Regions from separate parts of the Homo sapiens genome. Here region 2 is linked to region 1. Evidence: promoter capture Hi-C in 16 types of primary human blood cells and fetal thymus (Javierre and others, 2016). All regions are on one chromosome and are shown on one strand. Each heading gives the region's core, a stretch centred on a gene start or on the middle of the fragment in contact. The rest is flanking DNA. Distances are from core to core; before and after follow the strand shown.

Region 1 (4,124 bases), core at 173-2,672:
CCTACCTTAAGACGGTTATTTTTATTCCCAACTGCACTTCAGAGTCATCTGGAGAACTTAGAAAACAACAAAAAAAAGGCAGGGCGCGGTGGTTCACGCCTGTAATCCCAGCACTTTGGGAGGCCGAGGCGGGTGGATTGCGAGGTCGGGAGTTCAAGACCAACCTGGCCAATATGATGAAACCCCGTCTCCACTAAAAATACAAAACTTAGCCGGGCATGGTGGCGGGCGCCTGTAGTCCCAAATACTCGGGGGGGCTGAGGGAGGAGAATTGCTTGAACCTGAGAGGCGGAGGTTGCCGTTAGCCGGAGGTTGCAGTGAGCTGAGATCACGCCACTGCATTACAGCCTGGGTGACAGAGCGAGACTCTGTCTCAAAAACAACAACAACAACACCGAAATCACTGCCTCCCGGCGTTTCAGCCTCACGCAGATTTCATCAGCTCAAGCTATATACTACAGGTACAGTCGTTCCTTGGTATTTGCGCAGATTGGTTCCAGGACCCCCGACTATACCCAAATCCCCGCACACTCACGTCCCGCAGTCAGCCTTGCAGAATCCGCTTATAGGAAGAGCCTGCCCTCCTTATACGCGGGGCGGCACATCCCGTAAATACTGGTCGCGTTTGGTTGAAAAAAAATCCGCATATAAGTGGACCCGCGCAATTCAAATCCTTATTGGTCAAAGGTCACTTGGCTTGTTTCCTAGAATTACTTCCAGGAGTCCTGGACACAGGCAGAAGGTGCTGCAGGGAAGAGTAAGGACAGAACTGCAGAGAGAAAACCGCTCTGGAGAAGGCTGTAGGCCAGTGTGGCTGCCTCTTTGCATGCTGCTTTCACTACAATACGGTGACCGCTATTTTGAGACCGTACGAGGTGCTCTAGCCGCATTAACTCATCTAATCCTCATTGCTACTCCGCAAGGTAGAGACCAGGATCCCAATTTTGCAGGTGAGTGTGAGCCAGGCTAGGAGACTTGTCCAAAGTTTCGGTAAGCGGCAGCCCAGCAGTGCTGGACTCGAGTCAGTGCTCTTGCTCGTTATTACGAGGTCACCCGGCCTCCCGTCAGGGGTCAACTAAACACCTTTAGGCAGCGGGGCTGCGGAGCGAGCCGGCTGCCCCCCGGGTCACCCCTGCCTGCAGCTGGCGCGCCCCGGATGCCCGGCCCCCACCCCCACCGGGCCCAATCCCTGACCCTTGCCAAGCGGCAGCAAAGTCACCACGAGTCACCTGCGCGAGCACTAAGGCCGGCTGCAAAGTCCCGAGCCTCGTCTGGGTCCCCGCGGAGCAGAGAGCGGTGCTGAGAGGCCGGGCCACGGCCAGCATCCGGACCCGGGGCAGCGGCGCAAAGGCCGCGGGCAGGCGGCTGACATAGGCTGAAAGGACACGAGACGCCATGGCTACGCCAACCCAGGATGCACTGCGCCGCCGCCTCCGGACCAGGGTTCCTTTCCGGCGGCGCGCAGGCGACGCACACGGCAGCGCTGTCGGGCACCGCCGGCGGTGGCGGCCCCTGGCGGCTCCTGGAGGCACTGCGCCCTCGGAGCCCATCCAGGTTCGGGGACGAACAACTGCTTGGTGTCACAACTAAACTGTGCAGACGTCGCCGTCTTTCCCTAAACGACACGGCACGAGAAACCTACTTTCATTTTTTATCTGAAAGTTCTGAAATACATCTGTTTAAACGTTTGGGGCCGGGTGCGGTGGCTGACGCCTTTAATCCTAGCACTTTGGGAGGCCAAGGTGGCAGGACTGTTTGAGCTCAGGAGTTCAAGACCAACCTGGCCAACACGGCAAGACTCCGTCTCTATTACAAAAAAGATTAAAAGAAAAAAAGGACAAAGTTTTGATTCCACAATTCTTCCACAAGTATTAACATTTATTGAATAGGTAAAAAAATATATATAATAATGTGAAAAAATAATCAATTTCAATACCTAAGACTAATAAATGTGAGAATTACGATTAAAACAATATACATGTTTTAAAACTTGACAGTGTATAATATAGCTGTCAGGTCCACGACTATGCCAACTGTCATGCCCACAGCCAGGTTCCAGCCCATATCGAGGTCTGAGGGGAGTGGGTGGATGAACAGATAGCTGAAAGAACACTCAGGGGACGGTAGGCAGGTGAAAGATGATTTTATTCAGCAGCAGCTCTCATCAGCAGCTTACTTACACTAGTTCTCTCACACTGTCTGCCTTGTCTCAGCTGCTTAGTCCCATGGCTCCCCCACACAACTGCGAGGCTGGCTCTCCCTTGCCTTCAGGGTCAGCAGCTTAACTCTCTCTCAGCTGTGATCTGGCTCCCCCTGTCTGTCTGCAAAGACTGACAGCTCTGGCTCTCTCTTTCTCTGGGCACGAACGCCTGTACAGTATCAGCAGGGCAATTATACCTTTTACAGAAAATAGTGGCTTAGAGCCAAGTGATGACCTTCCCATGTTATGCCTACATGGCTGTGATAACAAGTGGAGTTATACGCCTCTGTCTAAACTTGCTGAGTCACGCAGGATGTAAACATCTTACCTTGGCCTATCCTTGACCAAAGCACAGCCATGTTCCTTACAATAGCTAACAAAAATAGGTAAGCGAGGGAGGAGTTTAAGAAGGCTAATTCCTATTTCTAAGCAGGGAGCTAAAGGATATTGACTGAAATGGAAACACACGGGATAATGACTCCAAATTCTGAAATCTGCCTGAATGAATGATCCAATAATGTCACCAGTTTTACCTCAATTTCTTTTTATTTTTGTTAAATCCAAGTAAAATAAAATGTAATGGTATGCTGCCAGGCGCGGTGGCTCATACCTGTAATCCCAGCACTTTGGGAGGCCAAGGTGGGTGGATCACGAGGTCAAGAGATCGAGACAATCCTGGTCAACATGGTGAAACCCCATTTCTACTAAAAATACAAAAATTAGTTGGGTGTGGTGGTGCGCGCCTGTAGTCCCAGATACTCAGGAGGCTGAGGCAGGAGAATCGCTTGAACTTGGGAGGCAGAGGTTGCAGTGAGCCGAGATTGCGCCACTGCACTCCAGGCTGGCAAAAGAGCAAGACTCCATCTCAAAAAAAAAAAACGAAAACAAAAAAAACATAGTTTCATCCCACTGTTGTAAAATAATTTCTATTTATTATAGCATTCCTTTAAAACTCGAGTGTCTGGGGGCCAGGCATGGTGGGTCAAACCTGTAATCCCAGCATTTTGGGAGGCTGAGGCAGGTGGATCACCTGATGTCAGGAGTTTGAGACCAACCTGGACAACATGGTGAAACCCCGTCTCTACTAAAAATACAAAAATTAGCTGGGTGTGGTGGCAGGTGACTGTAATCCCAGCTACTCAGGAGGCAGGAAGCTGAGACAGGAGAATTGCTTGAACCCGGGAGGTAGAGGTTGCAGGGAGCTGAGATCGCGCCATTGCACTCTAGCCTGGGCAACAAGAGTGAAGCTCCATCTCAAAAAAGTCTCAAAAAAAAATTGAGTATCTGTTACGTACTAATTGTTGAGGCTGCAACTGTGAGCAAGCCAGACAGGCAAGCCTGGTTCAGTGGCTCACCTCCGTAATCCCAGCACTTTGGGAGGCCAAGGGAGGTGGATCGCTTGAGCCCAGGAGTTTGAGATCAACCTAGGCAACACAGGGAGACCTTGTCTCCATAAAAAATTTAAAAAATTAGCCAGGCATGGTGATGCATGTCTGTGGTCCCAGCTGCTTGGGAAGCTGAGGTGGGAGGACCAATTGAGCCCAGGAGGTCAAGGCTGCAGTGAGCTATGATCACACCACTACACTCCAGCCTGGGCAACAGAGTGAGACTCTGTTTCCCAAAAAAATGTAGCTCTTAGCTTAGGAAGAACCTAATCCTACTAAGTTCACAATTGGGGCCATCTCTTCCCATGACCTATCTAGTCTTTCAGTGTTACACGTATGTATGTATATATGTATGTATGTATGTATTTATAGAGATGGGGTTTCACCGTGTTAGCCAGGGTGGTCTCAAACTCCTGACCTCATGATCTGCCCGCCTCGGCCTCCCAAAGTGCTGGGATTACAGGCGTGAGCCACTGCACCCGGCCTCAGTGTTACATTTAATCCTTTTGGTAAAACATAACAAATCATCTCTTATTTAA
Region 2 (3,924 bases), core at 756-3,255, 120 kb before region 1:
ACAGTATGGGTGAGGAAGAGGCTTTGGACCTCCAAGGCCATGATCCCACCGGGACAGTGCAGGAGCACCTCTCTGCTCGCCAGGCAGTGCTGCCTCACAAGGGCAGGTCTGAGACCCTCCCATTCTCTCTCCGGGCCCTGGGAAGGGCATCCTTACCATGCCTGTAACAGGAGCATCACTGATTCCTGTAAGAAAGGAGTAGAGTGAGATGCCTAACAGTAACTCCACCTGCTTCCAGATGAAGAGTAATGCCACACCCATCCTTTCTAGGACATCCAGAAAGTCTAGACAAATAAGCAACTTACTGAAGGTCATGTGACTCGTCCATGGCCAATCTGTGACTAATATGCAAGGGGGACCCTCTGAACTGCCCAGAACACCTGATTCCCTTGGCAGCAGGTATGTGCTCCCCAAGGGAACCAGCTCACTCTCCTACTCACAACCACCCTGATTGCCTCAGCAGCAGGTATGTGCTTCCTGAGGGGACCAGCTCACTCCCCTACTCAAAACCACCCTGATTCCCTCAGCAGCAGGCATGTGCTTCCTGAGGAGACCAGCTCACTCCCCTACTCAGAACCCTGCTGATTCTCTCAGCAGCAGGCACTTGCTCCCAGAGGGAACCAGCTCACTCCCCTACTCACACCCATCCCGATTCCCTCAGCAGCAGGCATGTGCTCCCTGAGGGTCCAGCTCACTCTCCTACTCACAACCACCCTGATTCCCTCAGCAGCAGGTATGTGCTCCCTCAGCAGCAGACACGTGTTCTCCGAGGGTCCAGCTCACTCCCCTACTCACACTCTCCCTGACTTGCTCAGCAGCAGACACGTGCTTCCCAAGGGGACCAGCTCACTCCCCTACTCACACCCATCCTGACTCCCTCAGCAGCAAGCACGTGCTCCCAGAGGGAACCAGCTCACTCTTCCTATTCACAACCATCTCGACTCCCTCAGCAGCAGGCATGTGCTCCGCGAAGGGAACCAGCTCACTCCCCTACTCGCACCCATCCTGTGCCTGCTCCCCACAAGCACCTGCCCTCACCCAAGGCTGCCAGGTCCTGATGAAGCAAAGATGGCACCACAGTCCCCATCTGCGCAGGTCCATTGTCCACCTCCAAGTCAATCAGGGGGCAGGTCTTCATGCAGCCTGCTGGATTCTGAAAGACTAGAAAGCCCAGGGTTAGGAAGAGAAGTCAGTTGGACATGAGAGCAAAGTCTCCACATAAATCCTATCAGCTTCCCTCAGACCACCTCCTAATCAAATGGTAACGCCCTCCCTGCCCTTCCAAGAACCTTCCACTCAGCTGAGTGTCCTGACACACAAGCTCAGCTGGCATCCAAGACAAGAGGGAGCCAAGGCCTGCCTTCCTACCCCAGGGATCATAGGCCCTCCTGCAAAGATCCCATCACTCTGGAGGAAAGCAGATTCGGCCTTCTCCAGCTCAGGCCATTCTGAGGCTTCTGACCACAGCTGATTAGAATCACCCACAGTGCTTGAAAGACGCACACCTCCAGGCCCAGCTCCAAGCAGTCTTGATTCAGAAGGTCCAAGCCAGGGACCGCATTTCAACCAGTGCTCCAGGTGATTCTGATACAGCTGACCTGGCACTAGGAACCACTAAGGAAGATCATTTCTTTTGTCTCTAGCTCCTGTATGCAAGCATTTATGAGAATTCAAACGCAGGCACAGCTTAGCCATCTGCTTTTGTGTGTAGTCAAAGCTGGGGTCCAGCCCGGCAACCAGCTCATGACAATTCCTATGGCTGGGTGTGGCAACATATCCACTTTCACAGGAAGGGGAACAAAGGGCGAGTTCTCTCATTTCTATTCCTTAACCCAGAATATGTTTAGGACCCATTTCTTTTCTGGGAATTACAGGCTGCCCCAAGGCAGAGAAGGCAAGGAGAAGCTTTCAAACATACCTCTGGAGACAGGGATGTCTCCCAATGAGCTGGTCACTCTGTTTCCAAAGGTGACCCGGCCCTCCATCACCTGTTTGTACAGCAGAACTCCTTGGGTGAGGAGGTCATTTGCCTGGAGAATTTCCGCTGAAGAATGAGGGAAGACTCAGAACCCCCTGGTTTGGCAACCAACAATCTCAGTCTTTTCTAAGCTTTTCCATAAAACAGCCTTCATATGGCTAGACTATGTTCAGTTTATCCACACCTCCTGCCTCCAGGTTGTGTCATCGGACCCTATCAGGCCTAGTCAGTTAACCTGAGTCCTAACATGTTAGTAGTTCTCAATGCAGAAGGAAGCAAATCTGTTCACCTTCTACACCTGTACTGTCCAGAGTAATGGCCAGCAGTAAGCACTCAAATTAAGGCCCTTTCAATAACAAACTTTTAACTTTAACTCAGAATCTGAAGCTGCTGGCTCTGTGCAGTGGCTCATGCCTATAATCCCAGCATTTTGGGAGGCCGAGGCGGGTGGATCACCTGAGGTCAGGAGTTCGAGACTATCCTGGTCAAAATGGTGAAACCCAGTTTCTACTAAAAATACAAAAAATCAGCCGTGGCAGGTGCCTGTAATCCCAGCTATTCGGGAGGCTGAGGTGGGAGAATTGCTTAAACCCAGGAGACGGAGGTTGCAGCGAGCTGAGATCGCACCATTGCACTCCAGCCGGGGCAGCAAGAGCGAAACTCCATCTCAAGAAAAAAAGAAATATCAGAAACAGAACATGAGCAGCATCATGGGGGATGCCACGAGCAAAACTGAGACCGAGAGAACTGTCAATTCAGAGGGCCTATTTTCATGCAAGGAAAAAAGGCTGTGTGTGGTGGTTCACGCCTGTAATCCCAGCACTTTGGGAAGCCAAGGCGGGCAAATCACTTGAGCCCAGGAGTTTGAGACCAGCCTGGCCAACATGGCAAAACTCCATCTCTACTAAAAGTACAAAAATTAGCCAGGTGTGGTGGTGCGCAACTGTAGTCCCAGCTACTCAGGAGGCTGAGGCATGAGAATCGCTTGAACACAGGATGTAAAGGCTGTAGAGGCTACAGTGAGCTGAGCACGCCACTGGACTCCAGCCTGAGCAACAGAGTGAGACTGTCTCAAAAAAAAGGAAAAAGGATTGCAGAGGGCATGCACATGCTATCCACTAAGAGAGACAGAAGAAATATAAACCAATTATATGGCTTTTCTTTTATGTCTGATTTAGAACAATTTTTTTTTTTTAAGTTAGCAAGAGATGATTAAGGAGAAATTTTATCAGGGCAATCTGAACACTGACTGAATCTTTGATTATTCTGAAATGTCCAGAGGCCGGGGATCGTGGCTCACGCCTGTAATCCCAGCACTTTGGGAAGCCGAGGCAGACGGATCACTAGAGGCCAGAAGTTTGAAACCAGCCTGGCCAAAATGGTGAAATGTCATCTTACAAAAATACAAAATTAGCCAGGCGTGATGGTGGGTGCCTATAATCCCAGCTACTTGGGAGGCTGAGGAAGGAGAATGGCTTGAACCAGGGAGGTAGAGGTTGCAGTGAGCCAAGACTGCACAACTGCACTCTAACCTGGACGACAGAGCGAGACTCCATCTCCAAAATAATTAAAAGAAAAAGAAATGTCTAGAATTTGCTTCAAAACAGACTAGGGAATGGGTGTGTACAAAGAGAGGTACAGATGAAGTAAGATTAAAAAAATCAGCTATGAGCTGGTAATTATTAAAGATGAGTGAAGAATATATAGGTTTTACTATTCCCCTCTCTCATGTTTCGAGATTTTCCACAATAAAGAGTTAAAATTCTTTTTTAGTAACTGTGGACAATTCTCCACTTCCTTACAGATGTACCTTCCATTTCCCATCGGCCTGGCCCTCTTAGTTGACCTACCTGGCCCCTGAAGGTACAAAAGCCCGTGATCCCCTTGAGACACCACCCACAGCTGTTTCTCTGGCCCCTGCGATTGGTCAGCTTTTCCTGAAGCCT

The links. The method cuts DNA at HindIII sites, captures the fragments that hold promoters and counts their contacts. A CHiCAGO score of 5 or more calls a contact.
Region 2: a contact is called between a fragment that was not itself captured here and the fragment with the promoter of NDUFAB1 in region 1, in 1 of 17 cell types (erythroblasts). The highest score is 5.8, in erythroblasts.

The regions. Positions count from the first base shown.
Region 1 is chr16:23,594,894-23,599,017 of GRCh38, forward strand. It overlaps NDUFAB1 (NADH:ubiquinone oxidoreductase subunit AB1), which reads right to left and starts at 1,423. Exons shown (of 5, transcript NM_005003.3): 1 at 1,230-1,423. The coding sequence starts at 1,397. RefSeq lists a silencer at 1,081-1,170. The HindIII fragment of the contact is 11,223 bases long and covers 1-4,124 here.
Region 2 is chr16:23,478,727-23,482,650 of GRCh38, forward strand. GGA2 (golgi associated, gamma adaptin ear containing, ARF binding protein 2) reads right to left here. Exons shown (of 17, transcript NM_015044.4): 10 at 1,919-2,044; 11 at 1,039-1,161; 12 at 157-185. Among named protein-coding and RNA genes, the nearest start is that of COG7, 28 kb to the left of the region's middle. The HindIII fragment of the contact is 204 bases long and covers 1,904-2,107 here.